Regions from separate parts of the Homo sapiens genome. Here region 1 is linked to region 2. The links are contacts of gene promoters, found by promoter capture Hi-C in blood cells and fetal thymus (Javierre and others, 2016). All regions are on one chromosome and are shown on one strand. Each heading gives the region's core, a stretch centred on a gene start or on the middle of the fragment in contact. The rest is flanking DNA. Distances are from core to core; before and after follow the strand shown.

Region 1 (6,398 bases), core at 2,221-4,720, about 11 Mb before region 2:
TCTAAACATGAGAAACTGTTAAATCAATGAGACTATTTTCAAGTTCCCAAAGCAGTAATATCCTACTGACTTCTGGGTAAAAAAATAAACCAGTTATAAGTTGATGTCCTAGGAAAATCGAAGAGAGATCTGTGTGGCCTGGAGTAGTTGAGGAACATGGCAAGAGGCATGGATCCCTGTTGCAAAAGGTGGAAAGTCTCGTCAGAATACAAGGAAATGAAATGAAGAGATATTTCCAGCAAGAACAGACAAAATTTAGGAAACAATTAGTAAATAGGAGCACAGAAAATCATTCCAGTCTTGTCCTTCAAGTTTTTTTTTTTTTTTTCCCCCTGGGTAAGTCTGCACTGAAGTTAGGCTAGATTCTTGACTGTCCTTTCCGAAATCCATGCTAATCCAACTCACTGTCTCTGTCCCTCTCTCGTCCCCATTTTGAATGTTCTCCCTTTTATTTTACTTTTCCTAATGTTTTCCAAGCTTTGGGCTTTGGCTTGGAAAGCCTATCTGACTACTCAAGCACATGTTAATCTTCCCCTTCTGTAGCATTTTTGATATGTGACACCCACATTTTCAGTGAATGGCATGATATCTAGTAGTGTTTCCAATGTGTTAAACTGTTTGCAGCTATATTGTATAACTCTCAAGAATGAGGACACTACAATTTGTATAACCAATGTACCATGATATATGTAACCAATGATTTATTTTAAACAAACAATATTTGTTGAGTTGATTTTTTTTTTTTTTTTTTGAGACGGAGTCTTGTTCTGTTGCCCAGGCTGGGGTGCAGTGGCGCGATCTTGGCTCACTGCAACCTCTGCCTCCTGGGTTCAAGCAATTCTCCTGCCTCAGCCTCCCACATAGCTGGGGTTACAGGTGCGTGCCACCGTGCCTAGCTAGTTTTTGTATTTTTGGTAGAGACGAGGTTTCACCATCGTGGCCAGGCTGGTCTTGAATTCCTGATCTCAGGTGATCCACCCACCTTGGCTTCCCAAAGTGCTGGGATTATAGGCATCGGTCACTGCACCCAGCCTGAGTTGATTTTTAATTACATAATTAATACATGAAGATGTTGTCCTTGTATAAAATAAAATCTTACAGATAAGGCTTAATTTCCTTTGACTATAACTCTTAACCCTAATGTCTTTTCTTGCCACTTTTTCCCACAAAAAGTCACTACAATGATCAGACTGGTATGTATTCTTGCAGATCTTTATTTTATTATTATTTTTTTTTGAGACGGAGTCTCACTTTGTCACCCAGGCTGAAGTGCAGAGGCGCGATCTTGGCTCACTGCAACCTCCACCTCCTGGGTTCAAGCAATTCTCCTGCCTCAGCCTCCCTAGTAGCTGGGATTACGGCTGCCTGCCACCATGCCCAGCTAATTTTTGTATTTTAGTAGCAACGGCGTTTCACCATGTTGGTCAGGCTTGTCTCAAACTCCTGACCTCAAGCAATCCACCCACCTCGGCCTCCCCAAGTGTTGGGATTACAGGCGTGAGCCACCGCACCCGGCCTATTCTCTGTATTTATATTATATATATATGCATAAATATATATATATATATATTATTGTGTTGTGGGTTTTAAAAACACAAATGGTATCATACTGTATATATTGGTATTTGCTTTTTATTTAAGAATGTGTCTTAGAATTCTTCCTATGTGTGTTCAGATAAACCTTATTCTTCTTAAATGTTGCCTAATAGCTTATTGAATACATATAATTTATTTAGCAGTTCTCCAATATATAGACATAGGTTGCTTACAATTATCTTTCTATTATAAAGTTTTTGTGAACCTCCTGTAATATGTCTCTTTGTGTGACTTTTTTCTGAGACAGTCTGCTCTGTCACCCAGGCTGGAGTGCAGTGGCATGATCTTGGCTTACTGCAACCTTCGCCTCCCGGGTTCAAGAGATTCTCGTGCCTCAGCCTTCCAAGTAGCTGGGATTGCAGGCACCTGCCACCACTGCCCAGCTAATTTTCGTATTTTTAGTAGCGATGGGTTTTTGCCATGTTGGCCAGGCTGGTCTCGAACTCCTGACTTCAGGTGATCCACCTGCCTCGGCCTCCCACAGTGGTGGGATTACAGGCATAAGCCACTGCACCTGGCTTTTGTGTGCATTTTAAAATCAGGGTCCAGTCAGGAAAACAGAAATCACATTAGTTATTGAGAAATATTTTAATATGGGAAATTGGTCAAAAGGAATTATAAAAGGTAACAGGTAATCACTGCAGGTAGCAGCTACCATTCCTAGAGCTAGGAAAGGATGGAACAAAAGAAGTGGTTGGAGTCATCAGAACCTAAAAGCTTGAAGGAGGGCCCTGAACACCTTAGTTCAGGCCTATGAAGAATGAAGAGAGGGTGATGGCTGGCTGTTACTGGATCTCTGGAGCACAAAGAAGGGATCCCACGGTGTTGAGGCTCAAACTTCTGAGGAGGTGGCTCAAACATTGGCTATCTCAGGAGCTCAGGGGAGGGGCCGCATGAAAGTAGAATTCAGATCTCTGAGGAGAGCACTGACTGCTGCTGTGATCTCTGAGGGGTGCAATAAGGCTGATTCTGTGATTGTTGGAAAAAGGATAGAGATTAAAACCACCTTTTGGCTAAAGCAATTGCTCCTGCCACGGTAAAATGCAGCTGCTGCTGGCATGATGCTTACAGAATGGAGCAAGTCCCTTCTTCCTCTTGCCTTTGTTTCCCTCTTGTTCGTCCTGTTGGTGGAATCTAGCAGAAGCCCCCCCAGTAACATGGAGTTGAGTATAAAAGGGTGACTGCGTGGACAAGAAACAATAACCAGCACACATTTACTTGTTTCTCTGGTGTGATTCTGAGTCGCACAATCAATGGGTTACAGGATTTGTACATTTCAAATTTTAATAGGGACTCCCACATTATCCTCTTTCCTAAACTGCACGTTAACAGTTTCAATATGAATAAAAGGGGACGGGGAGGGGAGATTTAGAGAGAATAGTGCCTACAGCAGTAATCAAATTTTAACAAGACTTGGGAATACTGTCAAAATGCAGGATCTGATTCAGGAGTTCTGAGGGGCCCGAGTTGGCCTTTTCTAAAAAACGCCCAGGTGATACTGATGATTGCATCATGTTGGAAGTCTAAAACACTCCCATCTTCCCACAGCCTCTACCATAACATTCTAATGCTACCCTTATGTGAAACTGCCCCTCTGATGATTCACGCCAGTTTCCTACCCTCTAAGCAAGGAACAAACCTAGCTTCTGAAAGCGGGGAGGACAGGATTTGGCGCCACGGGTCCAATGCTTGGCTTCCTATTGGCCAGGAATGACATCACTCAGACAGGCGTGGCTTTAGCTGTGACGTCTCCGGTGGCGGATGGTCAGGGACACAGCGGGAGGCGGGAGCGGAAGTGGGGCAGCAAATGGACAGGGTGGGTGGCGGAAAAGGGCCCGGGGGAAGTTATTACAGGGTGTCCTCTTCCGCCGCCAGAAGCCGGAAGTTGTGTCCCGGACGTGTCAACCGGGGTCTGAGTGCTCAGAGTACAGCTGCAACCGCGACCATGGGCGGGAAGAACAAGCAGCGAACTAAAGGGAACCTGAGGGTGAGCGGGGGCTGGCTCGGCCGACCCGGGAGCCTCGCTTCGAGGCGGCTGGCTCCGCCCAGCGCGTTGCTGGAGGGTGTGTGGAGCGCGGCTGTAGGGAGGCGTGTGTTTCCCTGTCGAGTGTGACCTCTCTGTTGTGTGTGCGTCCCTGAGAGCGGTTTGTGTTATCTCTGAGCAGATTGGGGAATCGTGAGAGAAAAGATGTACCATGCCAGAGCTGTCCTCATCCGAGCACACACCCATAATATTCATGAAGAAATGATAATGTGTCAGGTTCACTGGAAGGTGATCTGGCCGAGGTAGCGGGTTGGTTGGGGGAGGGCGGCGCTGGGAAGAAGGAGAGTTGGGAGAATGTTAAAGTGAATCCACTGTGGAGGTTACCGCAGATTGTGCCTCTCCTTTGCTACCTACAGTGGCTTCTCCTAAGCTAAAGCTCTTAGGATGGTATATTTGGTTTCTGGACTGCCTGTTACCCCTTTCCATCTGCAGTCCCATCTTCAGCTCCCTCCTCTTGGCTTACTTCATCCAGCCACACTGATCTCTTCACTGTGCCTTGACTACCTGGCCGGCTCCCAACGCTCTTCAGTTAGGTGGCTCCAAACTTTGCTCTCGACACCTCAGTGAGGTCTCCCATGATCACCCTCTTGGTAGCCCTTCCCCACTCCCATGTTCTTCCTACTTTATTTTACTCCATTGTATTTATGACATTTATTGTCTTGGTTCACTAGGACGTAAGTATTTTGAAAGCAAATGTTTTTATCCTCGGAACCTAGAACAGACTGGCACCTAATAGACGCTCACTAAGTACTTGCTTAAGGACGACCTTAAAGTGGATTCGTGTAAAACTACACGATGAGGGGTTTTGTAATGGTATTTTTTTATGGTGTTAGATTTATTATAGCACAGTCCAATTTTATGAGAATGCTTTTTTTTCCTGTTTCTGATGTAGTTAATTCTAGTGATTTCAATGTCACATTTTCTTAGATCTGTCACTTAATCTGTTTTGGAAGATAATAACAGTATTAACAATTATAGCAACCTGTTGTGTTACTGTGCTAAGCACTTTACTTGCATCTTTTAATGTTTTTTATTTAACAGATTTTCTCAAATGTTTTATATTTGAAAAGTTCTTATGAGGAAAAGTTGCAAGAATATTAGAACGACATCCCATATACTCTTTACCTACATTTACCAATTGCTAATACTTGGTTGCATTTGCTTTCTCTCTCTTAATTTATGTATTTTTCTGAACTTATAAGAGTTAGTTGCAGAAGTCGGGACTCTTAACTCCTAAATACATCAGCATGTATCTTCTAAAAACAATGCCATTTTCTAGCCTGCAGCAATTATAATAATGGTTATAGTATGCAGAAACTTTGACTTTTGTATAATACTGTAATCCAGGATACAGCCTTGTATTTAGACTTCTGTAGTTATCCCAATAATGTTCTCTTTTTTCTTTTTTTTTTTTTTGTAAGACAGGGTCGCTCTGTCTCCAAACCTGGAGTGTGGTGGTATGATCATGGCCCACTGCAGTGTCAACCTCTTGGGCTCAAGCGGTCAGTCCTCCCACCTCAGCCTCCTTAGTAGCTAGGACTCCTGGCTAATCTTTTTTTTTTTTTTTTCGGGGACAGAGTCTGGCTCTGTTACCCAGGCTGGAGTGCAGAGGCGTGAACTTGGCTCACTGCAATCTCCGCCTCTCGGGTTCAAGTGATCCTCCCAGCTTAGCCTTTCCAGTAGCTAGGACTACAGGTACAGGCCATCACGGCTAGCTTATTTTTGTAGGGACAGAGTTTTGCCATGTTGCCCAGGCTGGGACTTTTTTAAAAAGATAAACCGTTTTAACATCTGAGATTCAGTCAAGGATCACTCATTCCATTTAGTTACCATTTGGGTTTCTTTGATCTAGACAGTTTCTCAGTACTGTTTAAGCGGGGAGAGGAGTGTCTTTTTTAACAAAATTTGGAAGAGCCTGGGCCATTTGTTTGATTAATTCAGATTCATCTAGTTTTTTCCTTATGATTAGATTCAGGCTAAACAATTTTTAGAAGGAATTCTTCATAGATGATGAGTCTTTCTCAGTGCATCACACACCAGGGGCACTTCGCACCTGTTTGTCCCCTTATTGGTGGTATTTGTTTAATTACTTGGTTAAGGTGTTGTTCATTATAAAGTTATATTTTTCCATTGGCCAATAACAAATAATATGTTAGTTTGAAACTGTGAATGTCCTGCTCTTCCACAAACTTTCACCTAATGGTTTGAGCACCCTTTGATTCTTGCTGGAATCAGTTATTACTATGGTGATTTAAAAACTTATGCTTAATCATGAAAACAACCCAACTAATGAATTAATTACTCATATCTCATTTTAAATGTGGTGAAACTGAGGTTTAGAGAAATTAGCTTGCCTAAGCTCATGTAGCCAGGAAGTTGTGGAGTTGGGATTTTAACTTTAATGTGGCAAAGTCTTCAATAGAAGACTCTGATACTGGATGTCAGGTATTCAGAGATAATAGATGTCTGCTGTTCTTGAACTATTAGTTTGATGATACAGACACATATGTAAGCAAATGTTAAAGAATTATGATGCAGGTATTAGAAGAAAGAATGTGGGAGAATGGAAGAGAATGGAGGAAGGCAAGTGTTGCAAACATGAGTTTGAAAGATGAGTAGGAGTTTGTCAGACAGTGAAAAGAAAGGAAGCGTTTTCAGGTAGAGAAAAAAGGTTATATAAAGATCAAATTGTGAAAGGCCATCACATAGATAACTTTTTTTTTTTTTTTGAGACAGAGTCTCGGGTCACTGCAACCTC
Region 2 (6,568 bases), core at 648-3,147:
ACCTGTTTTCTATATAAATTATCCAGCCTTGGGTATTCCTTTATAGGAACACAAACTGACTAAGACGAGCAGTGAAAAGAAACCACTGTTACAAAATACCATCGTGAATCTCAAAAACATGCTGCATGACAATAGCCAATCACAAATGAACACACACTGCTTAATTCTATGTATATGAATTCCTATAACAGACAAAACTAAAACACTTCGTCATATAAATTAGATCCCATGTTGAAGGAGCTTGACCAGAAAGGAACAGAAAGAAATGTCGGGGCTGTGGAAATGTTCTGTATCCTCACTGGGGTGGTGGTTACTCAAGTGTATGTATTTGCCAAAACTCATCAAATAATGCTTTTAAAATGGAAGCATTTTATTTCTGTAAATTATTCCTTGATTTTTTTTAAAAAGCCAACAACAAGAGAGAAGAGTTTTAAGAATAGCAAGTAAACAATGTGAAATGCCATAGGAAGGAAGACAATTCTGAGAAGTGAAAATAACTTGTTTCAATTTTTAAATTTTAGTGATTTTAGAACACTTTTATTGAATCACTTTAAAAGAGTCCTTTTTAAAAGAATGCTTTTTATTGAAAAGATGGGTAGAATCCAACATGCAAGGTATCTTAGTCGTAGTTACCTAGAATGAGAAATTCGAAGAGAAAAAGCACAGGCTTTTCATTTCAATTAGTGCATCTCAAACTTCGATGAACATAGGAATCTCCTGGCGGTCTTGTTAAAGTGCAAGTATTGATTTAGGAAATCTCGAGTGGGGCCTGAGATTCTACATTTCTAACAGGAAACCAAGTAATGTCAATGTTGTTTGTTCATCTACTACAATTTAGGTGGCAAGGACACAGATCGCTCCTGCGAGGCACAAATGCCATAACTGGAGTGCTAATTTGGCCCAGAAGTTTCCAAGATCTAGACAGTCCATTCCTAACCATCAGTTCAAGAATGCCTACATGTAGATTGACAGGCTAGCCCTCTTTCTATGTGAGTGCAACCAGAACACATACATATGATGCTGTAGAAAATAACATTGATCTTAGGTCAGTAGCCTTCGGTTCAAGTCCCAGCCTTTTTCTAACCAACTGTGATAACCTGGGTCAATTACTCGTAGGCTGCAACATGAGAGAACAGTTCCTGTTTCTCCTCTGTAGGTTACTGTGAGGACTACAATGGAAAATGTAAGTGAAAGTACTGCAAGAACCATACCCTAAAAAAAACAGAATAGCTTAAACAAAAGTCAAGCAAAGAATTTGAGAACCAAGCAGGACCTAAAAATAAGAGGTGGGGCTTCGGGATTTTTCCCGTGGGCGTTGAGGGATGTACCATATTGGGGGCAGGGGCGCCCCACAACAAATAATGTATTTGAAAAGATTCTGTATTTGAAATTATGCCTCTATCATGACACCTGAATATGAACTTTTCCTTCGTTAGATACTTCAACTGGCACTTAACTATAAGTTCAGTGACAGTATTCTGCTTCTTTCTCCTGAAGTCAAAGTGCCACCCACGCACCTCTCCCGTTCTGCCATCCACCCGCGGCTTTCCTACCCCCGCCGCCTGCGGCCCCCGCCCCGGGGCAGTAGTTTGCACTAGGCTGAAGGGAGAGGTGGAACGGATTCGTCTATCTACGCACCTCGAGGAGGGGTGTGTGAGGAGCTACGTTCCAGAGAACGGTAAGAAACTCCGGCCAGGAAACACGGGATCACAGGAGAACTCGAGGCGAAGGTGCGGCGTCGGTGCAGGAGCGGAGGGGCGGACCCACAGCAGCCCGGCGAGCGCGCAGGTGTGCCCGCGGCCGCGCCACCCTCCCCGCAGCCTTTACGGGATGGAGCCGGCGGGAGAGGGCGGGGCCAGGCGCGCGGCGGCCGCCTCTGCTGCGGCCGGAAACAATAGTGGAGGAACCCGAGCCGCACGGAACGGCGGTGGTGGCCCGCGGAGCCGGACGGTAAAGACCCCGCAGCCCTGCTCCCATCCCACCTGAGCCCCGACCCCCAGTCCCATCGTTCCGCCTCCTTCGAGTTCCGAGCCCCGTGGCCCCTCGCGCTGCTGCGCGCCAGGCGCCCCGACGGACAGACCGACGGAAAGACGGACTTGGGTCCGCGACTCCCTGGGGGCGGCCGCGCGCCCCCAACGCCGAAGGCCGGGCCAGGACCCGGCTCCCCGAGACGCTGAGGCTGGGCGGACCGGCCGCCGTGGCCCTCGGACGCTTTCTTCCCTCTGGGAGGAATCCCGGAGCGATGGGACGAGGCTCTCCCGCCCGCCGGGCTCCAGGATGCCGCGGCTCTCCCAGCTCCGGCTTGGGCCCCTCCGGCGGTGCCCGGCCGGTACCGTGAAGCCGCCGCTCGGCCTTCGGTGTAGTTGCCCCGGACACGGCGGGACGCCCTCCCCGGGTATTCGGTACCCACGTGCATTTTGCTGCCGCCGATCTCCGTTCGATGCGAAGCTTCGCAACTCCGAGTTCGCGAGGCGCATCTGAGGTTCCCCCAATGAAGTTAGCAAAGCAGTGTCCCGTGCAGGTCGTTTTTCCTGTTTCTCACAGCGTTAACTAGGTTGACAGAACCTGGTAGCTGAAAAGGCCTCGCTGCTAAGCCCTCTGATTATTCGAGGTTGGGGGACGAAGGAGGAGGACTAGAATGCCGGCAAATCTCTTTCCTTCAGGTGCCACTAACCCAATCAACTATAGGACAAAAAAGACACGGACATAGTGTCACCTATGGCCTGGCTTTAAGTTTTACTAGCTTTGTGTCTTTCCACAGGAAAAGTGCAATGTTGGAGTGCAAGTATGGCGATGCTTGTTTGATGGAGCTTTTGCTTTAAATGAGCTGAACAGCATCCTTATTTCCTAGAAGTTCCCAGTAAAGGGAACTACCCCAAAGGCAGGTTCATGAAATTGTGTAACTTTCCTTTTCTGTTTCTTAATAGGGGCACTATGAACGAAGAGGAGCAGTTTGTAAACATTGATTTGAATGATGACAACATTTGCAGTGTTTGTAAACTGGGAACAGACAAAGAAACACTCTCCTTCTGCCACATTTGTTTTGAGCTAAATATTGAGGGTAAGGACACAGTATAGTTTTGATCTTATGGAATGAATTTAACACAGCTGCTTTGTACTGATTGTAAGGTAAAACTAAAATGTCTTCAATGATTGGAAATTGTGCTAAGTATGAATAGTGTAGAGATTTGTTAAAGATAAGGTTTCTGGAAATGAAGGTGCAGTTAACAGAGTTACGAATTTAAGAGAAATCTTTTTTTTTTAAAGACCCCTGCAACAACCCCATTTTTCCTAATACAGAAATAAGTATGAGTGTTGACTGGGAAACGTGTTTTCTGGTTTGAGAGCTTATTGAATTGTCAGATTTTAACAGACCTGTGTGTTTTTTATATTAAGAAGTAACATAACAATTTTTTTATTCTTTCGAGCCTATTATGCAAGTATTTGAGTGAGATGAGCCCGAACTCTTTTCTCACCAGTATGATCTTATTATCTGGAAAAATACTTTAAAATTTTTAGATTAACCTCTTTTCAGTGATCACACACACTGTTGGTAATTTTTAAAACCTGAAAAGGTTTTTAAAATTTTTTTAATAATGTCCCTAAGATATATGAAGAAAAATTCTCCAAATCCAAAAAGAAACCCCAAAAAAAAGCCCTATTGGAAGGATTTATTTGGGTTGGTGCAGTTAGTGTTGTCATATTACAATTGATTTTTGGTTTAGATATTTATGAGTCATACTAAAAAAAACCTTAATATTCCTGCAAAAAAAATTTGGCCTGTAATTTGAGTTTTGAGTTGTAACATATCAGTAGAGAGACTTTATTAAACCTCTAGATTTTGGACAGTTTCAAAATAGTTCTTTCCTTTTTTCTGTATTATATATTTGAAATTTTTCATGATCTTTATTTTCTGTTTACTAAGTATGGGGTATGAAATGTTCTTATTGTTTAAAAAAATATAGTGGGGGATTATATACCTTGAAATTCCTGTTAGGACTTGTTATTCAGAAATTATTATGGTCACCAAACAGTATGTGATGGAAGATTATGGATTTCTTGTGGATTACATAGAATATCTATAACTTCAGCTTTAATAAATGTAGTGATTATAGCTAATTTCAAAAGATGACATAACAGGAACAGTGGTGTGTTCCTACAATCTCAGCTACTCCAGAGGTTAAGGTGAGAGGATTGCTTGAGCCTAGGAGTTCAAGTCCAGTTTGGGCAACATAGCAAGACCCCATCTCTAAAAAATTAAATAAAAATAAAAGGATATCTTAAAAATAAGTTTCTTTTACAGTACTTAAATCATGCTGGGGTGAAAATCCAAATTTATGTTCTTTGGAAATAGAGTTGGCTTGTATATTGTTGATACATTGTAGAATTTTAATTTTAGATGAGTAAAGACATTAGAAATTATCTAGTCCAAACCCTGTATTTTACATTTAAGGAAACAGCCAAAAAGTTGGACTGCCCAGGGTTGCTGTAGTGGTGATGGCAAGCTGTTGTTATGTGCCAGGCACTGTGCTAAACCCCTTATGTGGATTATCTTATTTAACTCAAGATAGCTTTGGAATGACTACTGTCATTTTCTATTTTAAATGTGATAGAACTGAACCTTGGCGACCTAAGAAATACAGTTTGAAGTCACACAGCTCATAACTGTTGGTCCTGGACTTTAAAGCCTGGCAGTCTGGTTCTAGTATATGTGATCTTAATACCATTGATCTACTGTCAATAGTTATTTTATAGCAATAGGGCTGATGTTCTAATCCTAATTGGTTATCCTTGCTATTCTCTCAGCCAGCTTTTTCTAACCAGTGTTTGCTGGCAAATCATCATTAATGGAGTTCATGCCATGATCGAATTTTTCCACAGAACCCTAAATTTTCGTAATTGCTTTTCTAGCTTTTTAAAATAAGCCTTTTAACTGGTTCTCAGTCATTATATAGAGAATATACAAATATTACCTTAGGTACCATCTCTTAACATTTCAGCTCTGATAATATCTCAGCATGTAAGCATGGAATAAGTCCTTTGTTTTTGAAATCATAGTTCCCTTCAGTGTAAAAGACAATTCTCAATTTGAATTAGAACTATTTCGTTTAATATTCTATGTATATTCAAGGTTTTATATATTAAAATCCCAATTTAATCTTTGTAAGAAAAATTAGAGTCAAATAATTTCTTCTCTATCTGGTGTCATTTCTCAGCTCTCACAAATACGCATTTTCATTTTCACTACAGTGATCAGCTAGTGTATTACAACTTTTTTGTTTAAGATTTTTGTAGGCCGGCACAGTAGCTCATGCCTGTAATCCCAACATTTTGGGAGGCCAAGGCAGGCGGATCACCTGAGGTTGGGAGTTCGGTACCAGCCTGACCAACATGGAGAAACCCCGTCTCTACTAAAAATACAAAATTAACCAGGCATGGTGGCACATGCCTGTAATCTCAGCTACTCAGGAGGCTGAGGCAAGAGAATCGCTTGAACCCAGGAGGTGGAGGTTGCAGTGAGCTGAGATTGTGCCATCGCACTCCATCCTGGGCATCAAGAGCAAAACTCTGTCTCAAAAAAAAAAAAATTATTTTAGAAAAGAGGAGGGAAATGAGGATCTTGAATTGCACAAAATTTTAGTTTTTATATCAGTATACGGGTCTTTAGAAATCAGTGGGGGAAAAAAGTCATAATAATAATTACATACTAGAAAAATAACAAGGTATATTTGTTGTCGGTAAATCTTTTAAAATATTTTTGAAGTTTTCTTTCCTCTACCAAGTTCCCAACACAATGCCTGTCAATAGACTAGAATGTAAGAGGGGCTTTTTAAAAATGACATTTAACTTTACTAGTTTAGTGTAAATTTTTTGTAGTTTGGTAGTATTGCAGTTGCCTGATTTCTTAGCTTTATAATTGCTAGCTTTGGTCTAAAGCACTCTTCTCCGAGAAGAGGCTGAGTAAAAATAAATTCTCTTGAGGAATAATAACAGTTAAGCTAGTTTTGAGTCCATACATTTGTAGTAAACAATAATAATATTTTCTACTTTTTGGATTGTTGCTTACATCAAATCAACACTGGTTTCCTAATCAATTAGCCTCTTGTTTAAAAGCTGTGTGCATGCATACGTTTATAAAATGAAGACAAAGGAAGGAAGAAATAACAAAAGACAATCTAATCTTGTTGAACAGATTTTGTACTGTGGGCATGGCTCTAAGTTGGCTTTTTCTCTGACTTTACAATAATGAAAAAGAAAGAGGAGCCTACATTTTATGTACTTCCAAGCCACAGGTGATATGCTTTAAGGACCTGAGAAACACACTTTGAGGACTCAGATATTTTTTAATGTTCACAAGGTTGATTTTTTTTTAACCTATGCTTCACCATTTGATATGGTTTGGATCTGTGTCCCCACCTAAATCTCATGTTGAAATGTAATCCCCAGTGTTCTAGGCAGAGACTGGTATTAGGTGATCGGATCATGGAGGCGGAATTCACATGAATGGGTTAGCACCATCCCCTCAGTGCTGTTCTCATGATAGTCAGTGAGTGAGTTATCATGAGAT

Evidence for each region. The method cuts DNA at HindIII sites, captures the fragments that hold promoters and counts their contacts. A CHiCAGO score of 5 or more calls a contact.
Region 1: the fragment with the promoter of LTN1 here is called in contact with the fragment with the promoter of C21orf91 in region 2 in 2 of 17 cell types (total B cells and fetal thymus); the score reaches 6.1 in total B cells.

The regions. Positions count from the first base shown.
Region 1 is chr21:28,989,949-28,996,346 of GRCh38, reverse strand. LTN1 (listerin E3 ubiquitin protein ligase 1) reads left to right here and starts at 3,470. Exons shown (of 30, transcript NM_015565.3): 1 at 3,470-3,583. The coding sequence starts at 3,542. LOC105372766 (a long non-coding RNA gene) reads right to left here and starts at 3,244. Exons shown (of 3, transcript XR_007067835.1): 1 at 3,216-3,244; 2 at 2,666-2,777; 3 at 2,166-2,565. RefSeq lists enhancers at 3,186-3,245, 3,556-3,665. The HindIII fragment of the contact is 7,723 bases long and covers 2,316-6,398 here.
Region 2 is chr21:17,814,685-17,821,252 of GRCh38, reverse strand. It overlaps C21orf91 (chromosome 21 open reading frame 91), which reads left to right and starts at 1,897. Exons shown (of 5, transcript NM_001100420.2): 1 at 1,897-1,950; 2 at 2,928-3,061. The coding sequence starts at 2,935. The region is part of intron 2 of LOC124900465 (a long non-coding RNA gene); the gene reads right to left. RefSeq lists an enhancer at 1,203-1,252 and a silencer at 1,503-2,282. The HindIII fragment of the contact is 2,618 bases long and covers 1-2,450 here.